Regions from separate parts of the Homo sapiens genome. Here region 2 is linked to region 1. The links are contacts of gene promoters, found by promoter capture Hi-C in blood cells and fetal thymus (Javierre and others, 2016). All regions are on one chromosome and are shown on one strand. Each heading gives the region's core, a stretch centred on a gene start or on the middle of the fragment in contact. The rest is flanking DNA. Distances are from core to core; before and after follow the strand shown. Region 1 holds the start of TBCK (TBC1 domain containing kinase). Region 2 holds the start of METTL14 (methyltransferase 14, N6-adenosine-methyltransferase non-catalytic subunit).

What was found. The method cuts DNA at HindIII sites, captures the fragments that hold promoters and counts their contacts. A CHiCAGO score of 5 or more calls a contact.
Region 2: a contact is called between a fragment that was not itself captured here and the fragment with the promoter of TBCK in region 1, in 1 of 17 cell types (total CD8 T cells). The highest score is 7.8, in total CD8 T cells.

Annotation. Positions count from the first base shown.
Region 1 is chr4:106,312,429-106,319,351 of GRCh38, forward strand. It overlaps TBCK (TBC1 domain containing kinase), which reads right to left and starts at 3,781. Exons shown (of 26, transcript NM_001163435.3): 1 at 3,503-3,781. It overlaps AIMP1 (aminoacyl tRNA synthetase complex interacting multifunctional protein 1), which reads left to right and starts at 4,122. Exons shown (of 7, transcript NM_001142416.2): 1 at 4,122-4,166. RefSeq lists enhancers at 3,361-3,450, 3,531-3,590, 4,081-4,330. The HindIII fragment of the contact is 5,300 bases long and covers 1,311-6,610 here.
Region 2 is chr4:118,681,898-118,688,820 of GRCh38, forward strand. It overlaps METTL14 (methyltransferase 14, N6-adenosine-methyltransferase non-catalytic subunit), which reads left to right and starts at 3,495. Exons shown (of 11, transcript NM_020961.4): 1 at 3,495-3,703; 2 at 6,026-6,114. The coding sequence starts at 3,638. It overlaps METTL14-DT (METTL14 divergent transcript), which reads right to left and starts at 3,444. Exons shown (of 7, transcript NR_125930.1): 1 at 3,408-3,444; 2 at 2,511-2,570. RefSeq lists enhancers at 3,454-3,713, 3,894-4,033. The HindIII fragment of the contact is 429 bases long and covers 3,947-4,375 here.

The DNA.
Region 1 (6,923 bases), core at 2,531-5,030:
ATGGCTAAAATTTAAATGACTGGCAGTAACAAGTGTTGAGAATGTGGAAGTGGAGCTTTGCTATATTGCTAGTGGGAGCGTAAAATGGCAAAAGAATTTTGGAAAATATTTGGAAAACTTTTCTAAAGTTAAAAATATCCCTAACTTATGACTCAGAAATTCCACTCTTTAACCAAGAAAAATGAAAACATTTGTCCATAAAAAAAAACACTGTATGAGTATGTTCATAGGAACTGTACTCTTAATAGCTAAAAACCAGAAGCAATGCAAATGTCCCATAAGTGAATCAATTAACATATTTGTACCATGAAATTCTATTTAACAAAAATGGAACAAACATGTCAAAACATGGATATACTCAAAAACATAAAGTTTATGAAAGAAGCAGACACAAAAGAGTTCATACTGTATGACTCCATTTAAATGTAATTCCAGAACTATAGTTCTAAACTATAGTATTAATAAAAAAATCAGAAGATAGTACTGTAGATGGGGGAGAGGGGTTGAATAAGCAGAGAAACAGAGGAACTTTCTGTAGTGGTAGAAATATTCTCTATCTCGATTGTGGTGGTAGTGGTTTTATGGATGAGTACATGCATCAAAACTCATTAAATTGGCCACTTAAAATCAATGTGTTTTAATATGTATCAAATTTTATCTCACACAAAATAAAACAGCTTATGAGAAGATAAACACTGCTATACATTTTCAAAGCATCAAACGTAACTAGAAAATTGTAAACATTTCAGACAGAAAAAACTGATTCTGCTATCAACAAGTTAAAGTGAGACTGGCATTCTCATCAGCAATAATGAAAGTCAGAAGAGAGCCTGGTGCAGTGGCTTGTGCCTGTGATCCCAGATACTTGAGAGGCTGAGGTGGGAGGATCACGTGAGGTCAGGAGTTTCAGACCAGACTGAGCAACACAGTGAGACTCCAGCTCAAAAAAAAGGAAAAAAAAAAAGTTAGAAGACATGGAAGGATTGAGAGTTGAAGGAAAATACTTTTGATTCTATATACAGCCAAATTATCAGTCATAAGAGCAAATTATAATTTACAGCTATACGAACATTAAAAAATAAAATTACCTTTCACTTGCCTTTTGTGAGCAAGTTTCCTTAGGATATATTCCAGGGAAATAGGGGGAAGCCCAATAACAGAAGATGAGGGGCTAAGAAACAATGTTATTTACCCAAGAATGAATATAAGCCCAGGATAGGAGCAATACAAAAGGACTAGAATGCAATCTGTTCAAATTAAACAGAAAGCCATTGGGCTTTAAGGGGAAAATCTTCAAACAGAGGAATGGAAGCTTGCTTCTATGTGCATCATACAAAGAATGAGAAGATTCAGTGAAGAAAGCACATCCACCTACCTATTCCCCAGGAGAAAGCAGAAAGGCAATTAAGAAAGTGGGGACGGTTAAAAACTATGTATTACATACTCCAAAATATAAAGCATGCTCAACTACAGCATATTTTGCCCTTGGCAGGAAAGAAATAAAAACCCATTTGACCTTGATATCATAAATAATCTCCTTAGTATGGCACAGGGATCATGAAGTTAAAACTCTGGGGAAAAAAACATATCAGAGCATACAGCTTGGACTTGCTCTAAGTAACAACTATAAAGCCATAATACTGTAAACATTTTATTTTTTTTATTGGTTTTTGGCACGTGAATAAAGCGCAAATGTTATAGTTAAGAAATATATTACTAACTTTGACAATGTACAAGTAAATGTCCAGCTAAGAGAAAGTGGGCATAAATGTAGTTTCTGAAGTGATAAAGAAAAAGGTAGAATCACTACTTTTCTCGTTTTACCAAACAAGGAGTCAAATATATTTTCAAAAGTTGATGTGAAAAAAGTAGTTTACGTATATTATTTTGAATTATAAAGTAACCAATACAAAAACTAAAAATTATGATTATGACTCTTCCAAAATTCAGAGGAGATTGTGAATGGTGTGGGCTATTTCTAGAAGTCAACGGAAAAAGAATTAGCAGTTCAACTTAGGGCTATCTCAAGAAGTCAACAAAAAGAATTAACAGTTTAACTTATTATTTAACCTACAGACCTAAAATTAGAAAAGGTTAAAAGTGGTTATCTTTGAAGAACAGTACTGAGAGTAGGACAGGTGAGACAGTTGCACTTTATTATTCAATCCTACTACGCTATACTACTTGATTTTTTTTTTTTTTTTTTTTTTTTTTGAGACAGAGTCTCACTCTGTCATCAAGGCTGGAGTGCAGTGGCATGATCTCGGCTCACTGCATCCTTCCACCTCCCGGGTTCAAGCGATTCTGTGCCTCAGCCTCCAGAGTGGCTGGGATTACAGGCGCCCGCCACCACGCCCGGCTAATTTTTGTATTTTTAGTAGAGACGGGGTTTCACCATCCTGGCCAGGCTGGTCTTGAACTCCTGACCTCAGGTGATCCACCCGCCTCGACCTCCCAAAGTGCTAGGACTACAGGCGTGAGCCACCGCGCCCGACCATTTTATTTTCAATCAGATGTCTTTATCATCACATAGCTGAAAATAAAATAACCAAATAAAACACAATGATCGAAAAAGATAAAACACTAATTAGCATAATCAGTGTTCTTTTTCCACTACCTCTTAAATGGTTGTACATAAAAAGGCTCACACACAAAAATACACACACATACATTCACTTACACCTCGTGAGTGGAAGAAAACTACCGGGGGAAAAAAAACGTAGAGATGAGAGATTAGATGAGGGAAACAGCAGTGCAAGCAGTTGGGCTTGAAAATTCATTCATTCAACAAATATTTTGAAGCCCCTATTTTAAGTCAGTTGTTTTTCCAGCTGGTGGGCAAAGGATAATGAACAAGTCAGACTCTGTGCCCTCAAAGAACTTAGAGTTTTAAACGACTCGAATGGGGAAAGAAAGTAAAAAATAGGGCAAAAGACGCCGATTTTATCATGAATAAAATTTCACATTTCTTCAACAGGAAAATGATACTAATTCATTTATTTTATATATACATTCTCTCAAGAGGTTATTTTTGTCTCAAATAGATAGAAACCAGGACAGGGATCCTTGAAAAGCAGCCACTGACAATCCTCAAGTAACTTCCTTCCTCTGCTTCACTTTCTCCTACTGCTCAAGGGGGTGTTACACTTTGACGACTGACTAAACCTCGAGGGCCAGAAACAAACCAAAGCAAAATTCTGCCTCCAAGGTGAGTAATGGAGGGGCGGATTCTAGATTCTCTAACCTCCTTTAGCCTTCCTTTGAGGCAGTGACAGAGCGATTACTAAGCCTACGGTTCCCAAACGACTCAGGTGAACCTGATTTACAGGAAAGGCGGGCTGTAGCTAGGGATGGAGACAGTACCTATCAGCAAGCGGCTCCACAGCTCGGTTCTCTATCTATTCTGAAGACATGCGGGGCCACTCACTGCTCCTGATAGTCCTCTACCTCCCACAGACCCCACCCACTACGACACGGAAAACTGGATTACCCAAATACCTGCCTCTGAGTCTGGGGACGCAGGCAAGCACAAAGACAAGGGGGATGGAGCTTCTACACAGGGCCCCAGCGCTGTCGCTGTGGCTGCTGCTGCCGCTACGGCTTAGTGCACCAGACGCTGCATTTCAGGTGCTCCTACAAAAGAGGCCACTCCTGGAACGCCGGGAGCTCAGACGCTGCCCTTTGCTCGCGAGCCAAGTCAGCCAAGGTTAACCTTCGCGGAACCCGGCGAGGAGCGCAAGCCTGGCCTTCCCCAAACACAGATCCGAGCTTTTCACCCTCTACCCTCCCCTCAGCCTGGCCTTTTCTTCCGCCCTCACAGCCACCGCGACCCAACGCTGAGGAAAGACCCCGACTTGTGGTGTCCTTCCCCTTGCCCAAACTGGCCACGAAAGGACATATAGCGAGAGAGAAAGAGGTGCGGGGGGACGGGGGGGGTCGATTGAAAATACTGGGTGAGGGAATGGAAGACGAGGAGCGTGGTATGGCAGGTTAATGGGACTGAGCACAGGAAGAGGAAGAAAGAATTGAGGGTTGAATCTGTAGAACACTCAGGCTTTCAGCAAGGACACCTCATTGGGTCCTTTCTCACTGCTATAGTACGCGGGTGGCTGGACCTACATGCTTCCTGCTGTGGCTGTCTCGGAACCCGTGGTCCTCCGCTTCATGTGAGTGACGTCGTGGCGGGTCACTCACTCGGGGATCGCCGATTGCGATCGTAGGGGTCTTCCTTCTCTAACTTGCCTCCAGGAGAGAGGACCTGGCCTGCGCTGCTAATGGGTAGTCCGTTCGCAGCAGGACCAGCCCTGGCCTAAGGAAACAGGAAAGAGTTTGAGACTTCCTTCTAAAGGAGCCACGTTTGAGAAATGGGATGCAGGCCTAAGTTAAGAATGCTACAGAAAAATATCGATCCCTAAGCGTATTTACTGTTATGTGAATGTGTGTGTCAAAGGACTTAGGTGCTTTGGGGGAGAGGAGGGTGAAGACAGGAATTTATTCATTGAGCGAATAGTTATTAAGCGCCCACTCTATTCCAGACACCGTTCTAGGCATTAGGTGAACAGCAGTGAACAAAACAGACGGAAATCTGTGTCTACTTGTAGCTCACATTTTAGAGAGGAAGGCACATACTAAGCAAAGTAATTAGAAACATACTGTATTTTAGGTCGTGATAGTCCTGAAGAGAAACGTAAAGCAGGGAAGAAGGGTATAAAGTGACACAGGAAGGTCTTGCTGAAAAGATGACTTTTAAGTAAAGGGCTGACAGAAGTGGGAGATTTAACCACGCGAATATCTTGGGAAAGTGCAGTCAGACAGAGGGACCAGCCATTGCAGAGGTCATGAAGCAGAAACGTGCTAGAATAGCAAGGAGGCCTGTAGGGCAGAGTTGAGTGAAGGGTTTAGTCCTTCACTGGAGATTAAATCAAGGCGAGCAGGTCATGAAGATCTTGAGGACATCTAACTTTTATTCTAAATGAAATAGGACTTTGGAGCGTTTTGAGCAGTAGAGTGATGGGCTCTGACTTCCTTTTAAGAGGGTCACTCTTTAAGGAAAATACACAGAGGAGGACGTGGTAGGAGAAAGGAGACCAATAAGAAGAGTTTTGCAATAATCCAGAGGAAGCATAATGGTGGTTTGACTATGGGTGGTAAGAAATGGCCAGTTATATTCTTGATGCACTTAATTTGGATATGTAAGAGTATTATAGATGACAGGGTTAATTTTATTTAATTAGGCTTTGGAGGACACTTGAAAAATGAATTCCAGTGTGAGTTTCAGAGTGGCAAACACAAGTTAAAATCATGGCTTTGCTATGTGGTACTTGAAGGGATTCAGATAAGTCATGTAATTTTCCTGGATCTGTCTATAAAATGGAAATCACATCTGTCAAGATTGCAAAGGTTAGGGTATATTATAGGTATTTAATGACAAGGTATGTAATGGGTCTAGTCTGCAAATCTTAACCAGGTAAAAGATGGCCTTATTGTGAGGTAAGAGGGTCATGGGAGGCCAAGGCATACTCCTTTTTAAATTTTATGGACTCTGTACTGGGGAGGAAAGTTTTTGTGTTAATGACGATGGTATTTAGAAATGCATGGACTGGCCTCTCATAGCTGTCCACCCTATAGTCATTCCTTATAGCCATCCTTTAAACCCTCCAGGACCCCCTATGTCCTCATCAGTAAAGGGAAAGCAGGCTGTCTGGTAAGGGAAATAGGAACTTCCATAAAAAAGCAATTTTAGATATTCTTTTTATAGGTTTTGGCAAAGGTTGATAAAAGACCTAGGGAATTACTGCTGGTTGCTGCGCTTACATATTTTGAGTGTCTTCAGATGCATTGTTCTCAGTGTATTTAATTTTCTTCTTTAAATTCTGACTTTTGACACATATGATTTAAATCCTAGCAGGAATTTTCACCTAGTGCTAAAAGGTACCACATTGCTTTACACTATAATAAGGACGGTCTTTCAGTGTGGGGTATTTTATGTATACTATAATATTTTTACATATCCAGTAATTAGATTGTGTAGCAAATCAGGGAAAGAAGTTGGAAGGCAAGAATAGGAATGAAGGGAGGAGAAGAAAGGAAGAAAATGATTAAAATTACTATATTCCATCAATTCTGAGATACACATTTTTCTCTTACTTAACATCTCTGAAATAGGGATGTATTTTTAAGTTGTTGACATCTTTAAATCACTGTAGATGAATTGGCAGTTGTGAGATATTTGTCATTGCCCACACTTACACCCACTTAGTCATAACTTAATCTTGTCATTATTTCAGTTGAGTTATATATGCACTATTGGCATATAGTTGTTGAGTGTAATTTCCCTTTTAAAGATCATTTAGAAGATTATGATTAGCATTAGAATGAAAAGTTACTGTGTATGTGGGGAAACAAAGGGTGATACAAGATAAAAATCCAGGGTTAAATTTAAAAGAAGTCTGTCAATAAATAATATAGGATGTGTCTAAGTAATAAGAAAGCATTGGGTCAGTTGATTCAATAGTGTTTTTTTTCATAATGTACATAAAATAATAGAGCTTCTTGGGATTGAAGCCATTTTACAATTGATGGCATTTTAGATTTCTTGTATAGTATTTAAAGCTTCCAACAAAAATGTAAATTTTTACCTACTGTAATTCTGAAATAGGGAAATTAGAGGTTTTGAGTAGAGACACTTTCAAATTTGTGTAGCGTTCCTATATAGCATAAGAATTCTAAAATTAAAAGTCTGCCTGTAAAACTTTGATTTCAAAGTAGTAACTTACTTATGTTTGATTCCCAATGTTGTCATCGTGGGGCAGAGATTTTGCTTTTTCAAAAAGATTGCAGGCAATTTAGATGGTGTGGGTGGGGAGGACTACTGAGGAAATTGCTCAGTAAACAAAAATGATAGTGAAGATCTCAGAATCTCA
Region 2 (6,923 bases), core at 2,911-5,410, about 12 Mb after region 1:
TCATGTTGTTTGAGATTGTCTTAGTCCAGTTGTGCTGCTGTAATAAAATACCACAGACTGGGTAATTTATGGAGAACAGAAACGTATTTCTAACAGTTTTGGAGTCTGGGAAGTCCAGGATCAAGTTGCCAGCAGGTTTGTTGTCTGGTGAAGGTCCAGTTTCTGCTTTCAAGATGGCATCTTGAATGCTGCAACCTCCAGAGGGGAGGAATGCTATTCTACATGGTAGAGGGTAGAAGGGCAGAAGAGGAACTCTCTCTGCCAAACCCTTTTTATAAGAGTACCTAATCCCATTCATGAGGGCAGAGCCGGTTATAACTCAATCACCTTCCATACACCACACCTCCCAATATTGTTGTATTGGGGATTAAGTTTCAAAATGAATTTTTGGAGGAGACAAAAACCTACTGCCAGCCTCCACCTCCAAACTGGGGATTGCAATTCAACGTAAGATTGGGCGGGGACTTATATTCGAACTGTATCAGTGAGGCAGCAAAGTATTGTATAAAATGCTAAGTGGTTTAGGTATTTATACTCTCGAACCTAGACATGTGCTGACTAGTACGGTAGCTACTAGCTATGTAAACCATAGAAGAGATTGTGGAGGGCATTCTAGTAAGATGTATAATAGGCAACTAGCTACACAGGCAGTCCCTAACTAACATAAGTTCCACTTACGATTTTTTTTTTTTTTTTTTTTTTTGAGATGCAGTTTCGCTCCTGCTGCCCAGGCTGGAGTGCAATGGCGCCATTTCAGCTCACTGCAGCGTCCGCGTCCCCAGTTCAAGCGATTCGCCTGCCTCAGCCTCCCAAGTAGCTGGGATTACAGGCGCCCAACACCTCGCCTGGCTAATTTTTTTATTTTTAGTAGAGATGGGGTTTCACCATGTTGGCCAGGCTGACCTCCTGATCTCTGTTGATTCGCTGGCCTTGGCCTCCCAAAGTGCTGGGATTACAGGCGTAAGCCACTGCGCCTGGCCCACCTAACGATTTTTTGACTTACAATGGATTTATTGGGACATAGCCCCATCATAAGTTGGGGAGCATCATGAGTTGTAGAGTATAGGTTTGGAGGAGTCAGTCTCCAGGAGCTTGGGGAGAGATGCATAAGTTATAATGTGGATCTCTCTTTACTTCCTTAAATTAAGTGCCTAGAAGTAAATTGCTTCTTCAAAAAGTATGGATTTTATGTGAGGACTTCCGAAATTTCTTCCCCCTCTTCCTGCCACACACACCCCCTAGTGGCCTTTATGTTGTCATAATGAACAGATGTTACTGATGGGCTTGTAAAATTCTCTACAAGTATGCTGATGTGGTCTGGTGTTTTAAAATTCATTAGTTGGGAGAGAGATTTCAAAATTATATCCCCTTCTTTGTACAAACTGCAACAACCCTCTGCCCAACTCCAACAGTTTTGTAAATATTACATGGAAGTACATATCTGCATCAGTACAGTTCCAGGCAGGAAAACAAATAATTAAAAGTATTTTAAACAGACGCCATTCACTATGGAGAAATAGTTAAGCAGATATTGAAGGCTAGAAGAGCAAAAAGGGAGAAGTAAGATTAAATCAGAAATTTTAAACTGCAGGATGGCTACCAGTCCTTGAGCTGGTGGAACAGAAGGTAGAAGTAGTAGTATCATAGCACAAGAGCAAACTCACTCACTGTTAAGGGTGTCACTTTCTTAAGGTAAGGAAAGGAGGGGCTGCTCCAACTGGCTCTAGACTTTGTAAGGGACATAGTCATCGCTCTAGATGCCAGAAGCAGAGAGTAAAATAAATGGACAATAGCTTTCCCATGTTCCACCTTTTGATTTCCTGCCTGTGCCTCCTGTGGGCAGAGTCTTACAGGAAGCCATCTAACAAGGAAGGCTGGGAAATGTAGTTTGTGGACTCCCTGCCTAGCCATCATCTCGAAGCAGAGGGTAGGTGAGTATGGGGTTCAAAGATTACAAGCAAGTAACCTGCATAGCAACTTATCAGGAAAAAGAAAAATCCTCCATTAGACAGTAAACTCATAAAGAAAAACCGACTTTAGTTTTTAATCTTTGACAGACTTTATAGACTCTAGGGCCTATCACAGTGCTTGCCATATAAAATGCTCAATCAATATCAACAGATATTTAAGTGAATAATTGCCTATTCTCACCATTGGTAAAATTTAAATCAGTATTCAACTTAAATGATTGCCAGATAATACAACTGATTTTTAAAGAAATACACTTTAACTCATATGGACATAAATATTTTACAGTATCCAAGTAGTGCTGACATTACTCAAGGAATTGTTTAGGACTACTTGTTCAAAATTGTCTTTCAGACCTAGTTCTTCGGAAATACATTATAATTATTTCTATAAAAGTGGGCATGACTAAGTAGAATCTAGTCTTGCCCACTTTTGGCCCAGCCTGACTCAACTGGTTTTGATCTGGATGACTTAATATTATTTCTGAAAATTAAATCTACTCTGAAAGAACAGACTTATTACTAATTTTGTTAAGTACTTACCGCGATTTCCAATTAAACTTGAGGCAACATGATGTCTTACTCCACTTCCGCCACTGTAGGCTTGAAATAAGATGGCAAGTGTGGTGAATAATAATGGTAATAACTCAAATAAGACTTTGGCCTTTGCTGCCATCCTATGAAGACAGAATCACCACCCCCCAGCCCTCACCCCTCACCCCCGCAATCCGAGTAATTTCAGGAAGCTATTTGTTTCCTTATCCTTGGGTTATTTTCAGTTAAGACAAATGTACAAGCACAAAAAGGAGTCTCTTAGCTTCTGACTCCTAGGACATAAACCAAGACACGCTTTACTATCACATACTCATTTCCCTAAAGGGAAGAAGCCAAAAAATGCATACTATAGTAAAATGGGAAACATTTCAAGGGACAGTAAGGTGTGGGGAAGAGTGGGCAGATGTTGTGGCTGTTACCTGCGTGAAGGTAAATAAAATATTAACAATAACAAGCACTTCTACACCGCTATGTGCAAGGTGCTATTTATCCTTTCAATCACAGCTCTGTGAGGTAGACACTTATGACTCCCATTTTACAGATGACAAAACTGAGGCTCACGAAGGTGGTTAACTAGCCAAGGCCACTCGTCTAGGAAGTGAGAGGCCAAGGTTCAATCCTAGGCAATCTGGCTTAAGTTTGTGTTCTGTTAAAAAAAAAAAAATTAAAGGTTATCTGGCAATTTTTTAAACGTCAGGACTGTCATCTGTGGAATCAATTGAAAAGGGAATCAACACTTCAGAAACTGTAATACACCAAGGGAACCTGCTATCCTGGGAAAGAGAGATAAAGGAGAAGTCAGCTGACTGTCCTCCTTCAGACTAGCTCAGACCACCCCAACCTGCGAGGGCCCTGGAGACCCCTGTGGCGCAACAGATCCCTTACTGGGTCCCTTCCAAGTGGCGTCACATAGCAAGCGTCCAGAAGGAGGCGGGACTTCCGGGCCAAGCGAGCCAATTCCGGCCGCGCCGGAAGTCTCTACTGAGGAAAGCTATGAGGATACTCTGTTCGTAAGCTCCCGGTGAATTTTGTTCCACAGACTCGGAAGAAAGGTTGGATAAGAGTTCACTGGAGATTGACAAGTACTCGGGATAGTGAAAAGCCGGAGTTGGAACATGGATAGCCGCTTGCAGGAGATCCGGGAGCGGCAGAAGTTACGGCGACAGCTCCTCGCGCAGCAGGTCCGCGGCCCTGGTGTCCCCTGTGGGAGGGATCGAGAATGCGAGTGCGCGGCCGCCTCCTCCCTCCACACCCCGCCTTTTTCTGTCCCTTCTCTACCTGCCGCTGTTAAGGCCTTTCTGGTCCTGCGATCTTGATCCCTGGTTCTGCCTTTGTAGTTCTCAATTTTCGCGGTGTCCCGAATGTTTTTCCAGTTCCTTCCGCGGTCTTTGTGGTGCTAAACCGAATGCCAGGATTAGCCTTTAAGCTTTGTGGAACTCCCACCGAGTGTCTGGCATGTTCACGCCAGGATGAGTGTCATGTTATCCCCTACATTTCTCTTCACTATTAAATGGTCATCTATTTCTTTCTTTTCTTCGTCGTCAGCCCCAAATTCTTGAGATTGTGGTTTCATTATGAAATACGTTTACAGTATTTTCTTTGACATCTTTCTGAAGACAACACTGGAAGTAGCCTGAGTGTAAATTTTAGATTCTGCATCTTATATAGAGTATCCTTGTCACATCCACAGTTAATATTTGAAATCTTACTCTGTGTTAGTCACAATAATCTCCTGAAACAGGTATTATTACCTTCACTTATCAAGTAATGAAAAAGGCTCCATACGTTAAGGAATTTTACTCCTGGTCGCTCACTTCTCTGCTGGGAAATAGAACCTAGGTTTGTCTCCCCAAAGCTTGTCTTCTAAACCATTGTCCTTCACTTCTTTCTTGTGTATGAGTAAGTTAACATTTGCTGATTAGTAGAGTGCACATGCAGAAAATACAGATTGTGCACAGTTCTACTTAAAATCGAGGCTGTATTTTCCATTCTACTATTCAGATCAGTAAAAGTGATAGGAGCAATGCTCATAGAGTGTAATTAGTCATCTTGCAGTTATTTTTCAGTAATGAAACTTGGTTTTAGTAAATGGACTTCTGAAACCTATCCTCTTTATGGTCTGATGAACAGATTTGTGGAATATGGCTAAAACCGTGGAAACTTGGAGTCAGATTTGTTCCTTTGTTCCTTATCCCGCTGGCATTACGATCTTGGGCAAATCAAGTATCCTTTCTAAGTCTTCTTTTCGCCAACTTCTTTTATCGTATTATCTTCAAAAATGTTAAGTAGCTCTTTGTTGCTACCACAGAAGACGTTTTACTCCTTAATATTGAATTCAAACTTCTATTTGACTCAATATACATTCATAGGACAATTATTTGTTTAGTGTTTTACACTCAGCAGATGCCAGGGGCTCTACCTTTTAAAGTCTTTTATGAATTGGTTGCACTCTACTTAGCCAGCCTTATAACCATTATTTGTTTACATTTGTTTGTATTTTGCAAAATTTTCCAAACTGCCAAACAAAATTTATGTTACCATTTTAAGGTAGTAAAGTTCAGCCTTGTGTCTATAAATAGTAAGACTTAGCTTGAGTAAAACTGGATCGATTTTTATTAGAGCATAGAATAAATAAGTTATATAAGCTGATGCCTACAAAATGTTTAACATGGTACCCACAACCCTGTGCAAACACTGTCTTATCTGCCTTTTTTAGTTATTGCTATTGCAGGTTGAATATCTCTTATCTGAAATGCTTGGGCCAGAAGTGTTTTGGATTTCAGATTTTTTTCAGGATTTGGAATATTTGCATATTACTTACTGGTTGAGCATGCCAAATACCAAAACTCAAAATCGGAATGCTTCAGTGACCATTTCCTTTGAATGTCATGTCAGTACTCAAAAAGTTCCAGATTTTGGAGCGTTTTGGATTTTGGATTTTCAGATTTGGAATGCTCATTTTATATTAAATCGTGTGTATTGCTTCACAGGAAATTGGCTAAAGTGTCTTATTTTCAAATACAGATGGTTCCAGACTTACTATCATTTGACTTAACAATTGACTTTATGATGGTTTGAGAGTGATAGGCATCCAGGCTGCTCATTGACTTACGGTGGAGTTGTGTTCTGATAAACCCATCATAAGTGGAAAATATTGTAACTTGAAAACACACTTACAACGTTTATTTTGAAACAGATTTACTTTCAACTTACAATGGGTTTATCAGGACATAACCTCATCATAAATCAAGGAGCCGCTGTATAACTGAAAGCATAAAATGTTTTGCCAGCTGTCAAACTCATCTTAATTAATGCGGTTTTTTTCCAGAGTTTTTCCAGTTTGTCTTGCAAGCTGATTAATTCATTGTTTTGTGTGTGTGTGTGTGTGTGTGAATTAAGGTGTTTTTGTTTTTTAAGTATTTAATGTATTAAATGCTGCTACAAATGCCCAGAAAGGCTATCCAGTGCATTGCAATCTAATTTCTGATTTTGTCTTTTCTCAGTTGGGAGCTGAAAGTGCCGACAGCATTGGTGCCGTGTTAAATAGCAAAGATGAGCAGAGAGAAATTGCTGAAACAAGAGAAACTTGCAGGTCAGTCAGATAATTCTTTTTTTTTTTTTTTTTGAGACAGGGTTTCACTCTGTTGCTTAGGCTGGATAGGCTGGAGTACAGTAGCATGATTATGGCTCACTGCAGCCTTGACTCCTGGGCTCAAGTGGTACACCTGCCTTGGCCTCCCAAAGTGCTGAGATTACAGATATGAGCCACTGTGCCGAGGCAGGTGGATCACTTGAGCCCAGGAAGTCGGGAGTTCGAGGCCAGTCTGGCCAACATGGTGAAATCCCATCTCTACTAAAAATACAAAAATTAGCCAGACATGGTGGCGGGCTCCTGTAATCCCCGCTACTCGGGAGCCTTAGGCAGTAGAATTGCTTGAAACCGGGAGGCGGAGATTGTAGTGAGCTGAGCCAAGATTGTGCCACTGCACTGCAGCCTGGGAGACAGAGTGAGACTCCGTCTCAAAAAAAAAAAAAAAATGTGAAAGGATTACTGTTTTAATAAATAACCCTAGGTAGGTATGCAGTGTATTAAGAAAAGCATCAAAATAATGATTTTAGACACAATGGTTTTTATTGTCAGTTCATTAATTATAAAATATTTATTTTCTGAGGATAGTAAGTTCCCATTTGTAAAGTACTTAGAAAATGGAATGTTAGACTAAGAATTAGCATATATACTATAAATAAACAAGTATATTTAAACATTTTTTTGGAAATAGAGTCTCGCTCTGTCACCAGGCTTGAGTGCAGTGGCGCAATCTCGGCTCACTGCAACCTCCGCCTCCAGGGTTGAAGCAATTCTCCTGCCTCAGCCTCCCCAGTAGCTGGGACTACAGGTGC